3 separate regions of the Homo sapiens genome follow, and regions 1 and 3 are each linked to region 2. Evidence: promoter capture Hi-C in 16 types of primary human blood cells and fetal thymus (Javierre and others, 2016). All regions are on one chromosome and are shown on one strand. The core of a region is centred on a gene start or on the middle of the fragment in contact, and the rest is flanking DNA. Distances in the headings are between cores, read along the strand shown. Region 1 overlaps PDILT (protein disulfide isomerase like, testis expressed). Region 2 holds the start of VPS35L (VPS35 endosomal protein sorting factor like). Region 3 has its middle 15 kb from the start of SMG1.

Region 1 (2,700 bases), core at 24-2,523, 840 kb before region 2:
TCCAGTCCACATGAGAATAGAAGGCTCTGCTCTGTTTTAACCAGGGCAGAAGGGTGAGTTCATGGTTCTTTAATTCTTATGACTTAAGAACTGACACTAAATCTGAGGCTACAGAGGGAACCAATCAATTTCACATTCTTGAATTGCATTTGACACAACCAACATGCATACTTTAAACCTAAAGCCTTTCCACTAGCAGGTATTTCAAAGCAGTGAACTCAACAACAGCAGAAATTTTCTTATCTAAAAGGGACACTCAATTAATCTCATTACATTTGCATCTTTGATTCCTGCCAATACATAATTAAATTCAAAATGAGTTCTTAAAAAAACTAGCCGGCCTTCTAAAGTGGCCTTTGGAAAAACAAATCACTTGGGGAAAGCACTATGAAAGCTTTCTTCAAGGGTAAATGGGCTCTTTGCAAAAGAGATTATTTTCAGACACTGCCCCCAGGGACCACCCCAGTCTCAGATCCTTAATGGGTGACCAGCTTTCTCTTCTCTCTGAGAACTCCAGGCCAAGAGCCAGTGGTTGGGGGAGCTTTCCTCTCAATGTTCTTTGCAGTCCCACATTGTCCACATGTGGACATTGCCACATGTCCACGACAGACCTCAGCATCTTTGATTTGGTCCCAACAATCTGCTGCTCCTTATGTCCTGCCTTCACTGAAAGTACCACCATCCACTCAGTATCAAAGTCAGAAACCTCAAGGTTGTTCTTGATTCTTCTACTCTCACATGTAATCCATCACCACGTCCTGTGGATGCCACTTTCTAAATCCCTTTGCAATCTCTGTTCTCCCCATCCCACCACCACTGCCTTGGTTCAGGCCTCATTATTCCTCACCTGAACCACTGCAGCAGCCTCTGAGATGGTCTCCCTGCCTTCTCCAATGCTGTCCTGCAATGCATCCAGAGAGACTTCCTCTAAAATGCAAATCTGATCAGGTCATTCAGTAGCTAAGGTCTTCTGCTTGATCTAGCCCACAGCTACAGCCTCTGGGCCTTTGCACTTGCAGCTTCCATAGTATCCTTCCTACACTCCTTCACCTGGATTGTGAAGTTTATGCCCCTCATTGGTAGGCTGTACCCACCTTCACTCCCACTTAGTCTGGCTGGGAGGCCTTCCTATGCTCCCACTGCCTTCTTTTTAACCTCTCTCTCTCAGCATTCGCTATATGGTATCAAAACTGCTTTTCATCGTGTACATTGCATGATGTTGGGGGCCAAATCTTATTCATCTCCTGATTCCTAACATTCAGCATTGTGCTTGGAGCATGGTAGGCTTCCATAGATGTTAAATGAATGAATAGATGAATGAATGAGATTTCCTTTGGCCCATAATTTTCTCCATCCACATTAACTTGAATGAATCAAGGAGAGAAGGACTCACTACCATTAGTGGAGAGAGGTCAAGATAAGATTAGGAGCTGTCTAGGGTCCTTTATCACTTGTCCCTAAGGCAGAGGTGACAAGATTCTGTCCTAGGAGTAGGTTAGATGATGATGGTGAGCATGATGTGGAGACGGTAATGTGGATGGAATAATGATGAAGATGATGATGATGATGACAATGGTGATGATGGTGATGGTAATGATTATTAATTATAGTGGTGATGATGACAATGGCGATGATGGTGCTAATGATGATGATGATTAACTATGGTGATGATGACAATTTCGATGATGGTGCTGGTGATGACGATTATGATGATGATGACAATGGTGATGATGGTACTGGTGATCATGATTATTAACTATGGTGATGATGATGACAATGGCGATGATGGTGCTGGTGATAATTGTTATGATGGTGATGATGACAATGGCAATGATGGTACTGGTAATAATGATTATTAACTATGCTGATGATAATGACAATGGTGATGATGGTGCTGGTGACGATGATTGTTATGGTGATGGTGATGACAGTGGTGATGATGGTGCTGGTGATGATGGTTATGGTGATGATAATGACAACAATGGTGATGATAACAAAGGCCATTTATCAAGCACCTGTGTTTCAGGCACGGCACTTGAAAACCTTGTCCCCATCTTGTATATGAAGCACGTAGGTGTCAGAAAGGTTAGATCATTTGCCCAAGGTCACACAACTGGTAAGTGGTGAAGACTGGATTTGAGACCAAGCTTGACACCAAAACTGGTGCTAAATTCATCTTCTTGCACTGTGCTGATCATTGGAAACTTCATTCCTTCAGTATTTATTGAATACGGTTATTTCCCAGATATATTGTAGGCACTGAGGATATAGTGGTGAACAAAACAGGTGATCATCCTTGCCCTCCTGGAACTGACATCCTAGTGAGAGAAGACAAAAGAAAAATAAGTAAAATATATAGTATTTCCTACGGTTAAAAGTACTATGGAGAAAAATACACAAGAGTGATAGGGAATGCATGGGGTGGATGGAGATGGGGCTGTAGTATTAAATAGGATGGCCAGGGACAGCCTCCCTGGAAAGGTAACACTTTAGCAAAGATCTTAAGGTGGTGAGGCAGTGATCCATGCAGATTTAGGGCAGAAGGAACAGAGAGTAAAAATACCCTGGGGTGAGGGAGATTGTGCCCATTTGGCTAAAGATATAGGGTTTCTGAAGAGAAGAGGACTAAGAAATGAGGCCAGAAAAATAGGGAGGTACAGATCTTTTAAAAACTTAAAGGCCATTGCAATGGTCAAAACA
Region 2 (2,700 bases), core at 54-2,553:
TGCGTGCCACCACTAATTTAGCCCAGCTAATTTTTGTATTTTTAGTAGAGATTAGGTTTCGCCATGTTGGCCAGGCTGGTCTCGAACCCCTGACCTCAGGTGATCCGCCAGCCTCGGCCTCCCAAAGTGCTGGGATTACAGGCGTGAGCCACCATACCCAGCCAGCATGACTATTAACTGAAAAAAAAAAAAAAACCTCAGGGTGTGGAAGTGCTCAGAGGCATTCAATGCTGATGTAGCGTGTCAAGGAAGCAGTCTCTTAAGTGTTGGGCAAATGAAAGGAATAAGACAAAATGAAGTGTTTATCAAGCTCAAAAGCAGAAGGTTGTACCTGATTATTTCTAAGGTCTTTCATTTGCTCATTTAATCTAAGCTACTTCACATCATTTGAAGAGAAAGTAAATTATCTCGCTTTCTGAGATGCAGGAGAGATTCCCCGTCCCCAAATCCCACTATCATCAACAACACAACTTCCTCAAGTTCTTCACTCACACACATACCACCTGCTGAACCCTGAAGCTTCAGTCACTCATTCCTAGCTACTCCAACCACAAGGGACCTACGGGCCTGCCAACCAGGCACACGCCACGCCCTCCCTATGGTGGACTCCTATTCATCCTCCAAGACCCAATTTAACTCCTCCTCTCTGAAGCCTTCCCCTAGCCCCCTGGTGGGGATAATCACTCCCTTCTTGGTGCCTCATCCGAATGCCTTCTTTAGACATCCCTCTACTGTGCGTCTGCCCCATTATACTGTCAGCTCCTTGAGGCCAAGGAATAAGTCTGAGGGCTGTGCCTAGGATAGGATGAATGGCGGCCATTTTACAGATGAGAAAAGCAAGTCTCCAGGTGAACAGAGGAGCTGAGGAAACTGACCAACAGCCAGATCTCCCGACTCGTCCAGACTTTAAAAGCTGAGTCCACCATTACCCTCATCCAGCGACCCCAGAACCCGCGCCAACTTCTGGGGACGCGGAAGCCTGGAAACTCAAGTTTTCTTTAGGGAATGAATGGACAGGGGCCCGTGGAAGGCGCAGAGAGGCAGCAGACGGGGAGAGAACCAAGAACCCGCCAGTCTGGCTTCAGATTGCTCCGCTGGACCGCGGTAGCGGCCAGGGATTCTACGGTCAAGACAACTTGGGGGTGGCCGGTCGACCACCAGAACCCGACAGAGAGGAATTCACACTCTCAGACCCAGGCCGACCCCATCACAAGTAAGGACAGCCCCTCTCCAAAGCCCACCCGCCGCTGCTTCCTTACCAAGGAAAGACGGCCATCTTCCCAGTCACATGACCGCTTGTTCTGGGGCCGTCTGCTCGGCTTCCCATCCTTACCCCGCCACTCCCCGCACCCCTCGGCCGCCATGTTTGTGAAGGGCAGCTGGCCGCCCCGCAGCGGCCGCACAGCACCTTCTGCAGACGCCATGCTTGTGAGGGGCAGGCGACGCTCCGCACAGCACAGGCTTCATTTTCAGCTGACGCCATGCTTGTGAGGGGCAGCTCCCCGCTCCGGACAGCCCGGGTTACAACTCCCGCCGGCGCCATGCTTCGGAGGAGCAACGTCGGCCACGGCCAGAGTGCCGTAGTTTCTATGAGTCATGATTGTAAAGGGCAGCTGTCTACAGTGCCGGGTGGTCCCGCCTGCGGGCGTCATGATGGTAAAGGGCATGACTGCTGCTTAGCTCACCTGCGTCCTCTAGGGGCAGAAAGGACTCCAGAAGGCGGCGGAGCGAAGACGCAAACTGAGGTTCAGCCAGTACCTGGTTTTGCGGCTAATACGCTGTTTGGCGTGGGACAGCCATGCCCCCTCTAGGCCGCTGCTTTACCCACTGCTTTGCGGGCGGTTTTAGACACTTGCAGAATGCCCTTCCCACGACTAGCAACCGAGGGCTGCCCTAGATCTAATATGATTGACTACAGCTAATGCACGTGGGGAAATTAGGGTTCGCATTTCGTCCAACTTGGCAAAGCAGTGTTTCTAGGAAGGTGGATATCCATTTCGACCACAGAACGTTTTTAAAAATTATTTTAGGCCGGGAGCGGTGGCTCAGGCCTATGATCCCAGAACTTCGGGAGGCCGAGGTGGGTGGTTCACCTGATGTCAGGAGTTCGGGACCAGCCTGGCCAACATGGTGAAACCCCGTCTCTACTAAAAAATACAAAAACTAGTTGGGTATGGTGGCGGGCGCCTGTAATCCCAGCTACTCGGGAGGCTGAGGCAGGAGAATTGCTCCAACCCGGGAGGATGAGGTTGCAGTGAGCCGAGATTGCGCCATTGCACTCCAGCCTGGGCTACAAGAGCGAAACTCCATCTCAAAAAAAAATTTTTTTTTTAATTATTACTTTTATAACTTACTTAGATATCCATTATGGTCCCTTAGAGAGAAAGCATTCGATGTTTTTATAACTCTTACTTTTCATTCGGGGGTGGTGGTCTGTGGTTGTTCATGAGATGGTGACCTATGACAGGGAAAAGGATCATCTCCAGAACGGGCCCTCCAGTGTTCAGCTCAGTATGAGTAGGAAAGTATATCCACTCGTACCTGCTATTCCCAACACTGGAAGTGAACAAGGGTTAAAGGGTGGCCACGGGAAAGCAAGGAGCTCTTCCCATACAGCCATGCATGTTATCACATGCAACATCTCAATAAGAGGTCAAGGTGAGGAGCCTTTTCCTAGGCTCACACTGCATGATTAGGCAG
Region 3 (2,746 bases), core at 181-2,680, 610 kb after region 2:
TCTGCCTTTGCTCTGTTGCCCAGGCTGGAGTGCAGTGGCACAATCACAGCTTACTGCAGCCTTGAACTCTTGGGCTCAAATGATTCTTTTGCCTCAGTCTCCCAAGTAGCTGGGACTATAGGTGAGTGCCACCATGCTCAATTAATTTATTGTTTTTATTGTTTTGCAGACATAGGGTCTCACTATGTTGCCCAGGGTGGTATTGAACTCCTGGCTTTAAGTGATCCTCTTGCTTCACCCTCCCAAAGTGTGGGGATTACAGGCATGAGCCACCACACCCAGCCCTGGTGTTACTATGTTTATTATTACATTATAAACTCCTTGGAGTTAAGGGTGGGGTCTTATTAAAACCAAACGTGGCAATTCCTAACTTGTAGGCAGCAGGTTGTGTTCCAAAAGTGTATACCTCAGAGCTTTTTTCCCACAGAGACAGCATCAACTGCTTATTTCCCAAGGCAAATCTGGAAACACTTATTTAAACTATAAGGTGACTTAAATATTGCACAACTGCAATTAAAAAAAAACTCAGAAAACAGCACTGATATAATGGAAATACAGCAGGAGAAGCAGCTCTTGCAGGTTCTTTTTTACAAGAGATGATAAAAGGCTTCTTGCTTGTGAATGGCCCTTGAGACTCTAAGGCAGGATTAATTAGAAGACCAAGAACAAGAGTTCACACTTCAAGATTCTGAAGGAGGCTTCTAGGGATGTTTAAGGGCCTTTAAGAGGGATGAGTCTAGGTTTTTAAATTTGTTTAATTGCACTTAAAAATGTATAACTTTCCTTTTCCTTGAGCCAATTTTCTGTAACATTGTTTCCACACATATCCTTAAAGTATCATCTTCAGGCCAATGATTCTCAAATTTGCCTATTTAGGCCACATGTTTATAGACCCTACTCCTGGCTTGACATGTGCACTTGGCAATCTCATGCACATCTCAGATTTAACATGGTCAAAACAGAACTCTTGACTCCAATTTGCCTCTGTCCAGGCCTTTCTTATCTCAGTAAATGGCACCAACACACTGGTTACTCACATCAAAACTTGGGAAATAGCTTTCTTTTCTTTTCTTTTCTTTTTTTTTTTTTTTTGAGATGGAGTCTAGCTCTGTTGCCCGGGCTGGGGTGCAGTGGCACAATCTCGACTCACTGCAACCTCCGCCTCCCGAGCTCAAGCGATTCTCCTGCCTCAGCCTCCCAAGTAGCTGGGATTACTGGTGCCTGCCACCACACCCAGCTAATTTTTGAATTTTTTTTTTTTTTTTGAGACGGAGTCTTGCTCTGTCACCCAGGCTGGAGTGCAGTGGCGCGATCTCGGCTCACTGCAAGCTCTGCCTCCCGGGTTTACGTCATTCTCCTGCCTCAGCCTCCCAAGTAGCTGGGACTACAGGCGCCCACCACCATGCCCGGCTATATTTGTTTTTTTTTTAGAGATGGGGTTTCACCATGTTAGCCAGAATGGTCTCGATCTCCTGACCTTGTGATCTGCCCGCCTCGGCCTCCCAAAGTGATAGGATTACAGGTGTGAGCACCCGCGCCCGGCCAATTTTTGTATTTTTTTAGTAGAGATGGGGTTTCGCCATGTTGGCCAGGCTGGTCTCGAATTCCTGACCTCAGGGGAGGTCTTCTTTAGAAGCAGCTGGGAGCGGTGGCTCATGCCTGTAATCCCATTCCTTTGGGAGGCCAAGGTGAGTGGATCACCTGAGGTCAGGAGTTTGAGACCAGCCTGGCCAACGTGAGGAAATCCCGTATCTACTAAAAATACAAAAATTAGCTGGGCATGGTGGTGGGTGCCTGTAATCCTAGCTAATGGGGAGGCTGAGGGAGGAGAACTGCTTGAACCTGGGAGGCAGAGCTTGCAGTGAGCTGAGATTGTGCCATTGCACTCCAGCCTGGGTCACAAGAGCAAAACTCCATCTCACAAATTAAATAAATAAATAAATAAAAATAAACTCTTTAGAAGAAAGAACATATAAACAAGAGTGGTAGTTTTAGACTAACAGAAACCAATATGGTAGCCACTAAGCACTTATAGCTACTGAGCACTTAAAATGTGGCTACTTTGTATTGAAATATGCTGTAAGTAAAATACACACTGGCTTTCAAGGCTTATCAAAAACAGAATGCAAAATATCTCATTAATAATTGTATATTGATTACATGAAGTGATAATATTTTGGATAAAATATATTGTTAAAATGAATTTCACCTGTTTTTAATTTCCTCAAATATGACTACTAGAAAGTTTAGAATTACATATGTGGCTCAAATTATATATTTTTTTCTTTTTCTTTTTTTTTGAGAGAGAGTCTCCCTCTGCTGTCCAGGCTGGAGTGCAGTGGCGCAATCACAGCCCACTGCAGCCTTGACTCCCTGGGCTCAAGTGATCCTCCCACCTCAGCCTCCCAAGTAGCTGGGACTACAGATGTTCATCACCACACCCAGCTAATTCTTTTGAGGGGGAGGGGCGGGGAGTTATGGAGGTCTTGCTGTGTTGCTCAGGCTAGTCTGAAACTCCTGGGCTCAAGCTATCCTCCCACCTTGGGCTCCCAAAGTGCTGGGATTACAGGCATGCACCACCACACCCAGTCCCATTTTCATACCTCGAGGGGCTATGTTCTAAGAAACATAATTTGGGAAATACTGTTTCAAAGATTAGTGTTAATGATTTATTTTATAATTTATTTATTTTTCTTAGACCACAGAATGAGATTATTTTTGAAAATGGTGGGGAGGGTAGTATTGA

Evidence for each region. Contacts are between HindIII fragments. The CHiCAGO score rates a contact against its expected background, and 5 or more counts as called.
Region 1: a contact is called between a fragment that was not itself captured here and the fragment with the promoter of VPS35L in region 2, in 1 of 17 cell types (naive CD4 T cells). The highest score is 5.0, in naive CD4 T cells.
Region 3: a contact is called between a fragment that was not itself captured here and the fragment with the promoter of VPS35L in region 2, in 1 of 17 cell types (monocytes). The highest score is 6.0, in monocytes.

Annotation. Positions count from the first base shown.
Region 1 is chr16:20,390,226-20,392,925 of GRCh38, reverse strand. The region is part of intron 2 of PDILT (protein disulfide isomerase like, testis expressed); the gene reads left to right. Among named protein-coding and RNA genes, the nearest start is that of PDILT, 13 kb to the left of the region's middle. The HindIII fragment of the contact is 1,753 bases long and covers 397-2,149 here.
Region 2 is chr16:19,554,306-19,557,005 of GRCh38, reverse strand. It overlaps VPS35L (VPS35 endosomal protein sorting factor like), which reads right to left and starts at 1,303. Exons shown (of 31, transcript NM_020314.7): 1 at 1,260-1,303. The coding sequence starts at 1,276. RefSeq lists enhancers at 619-848, 707-1,669, 1,229-1,708. The HindIII fragment of the contact is 7,423 bases long and covers 522-2,700 here.
Region 3 is chr16:18,939,819-18,942,564 of GRCh38, reverse strand. No RefSeq gene overlaps it. Among named protein-coding and RNA genes, the nearest start is that of SMG1, 15 kb to the right of the region's middle. The HindIII fragment of the contact is 5,220 bases long and covers 1-2,746 here.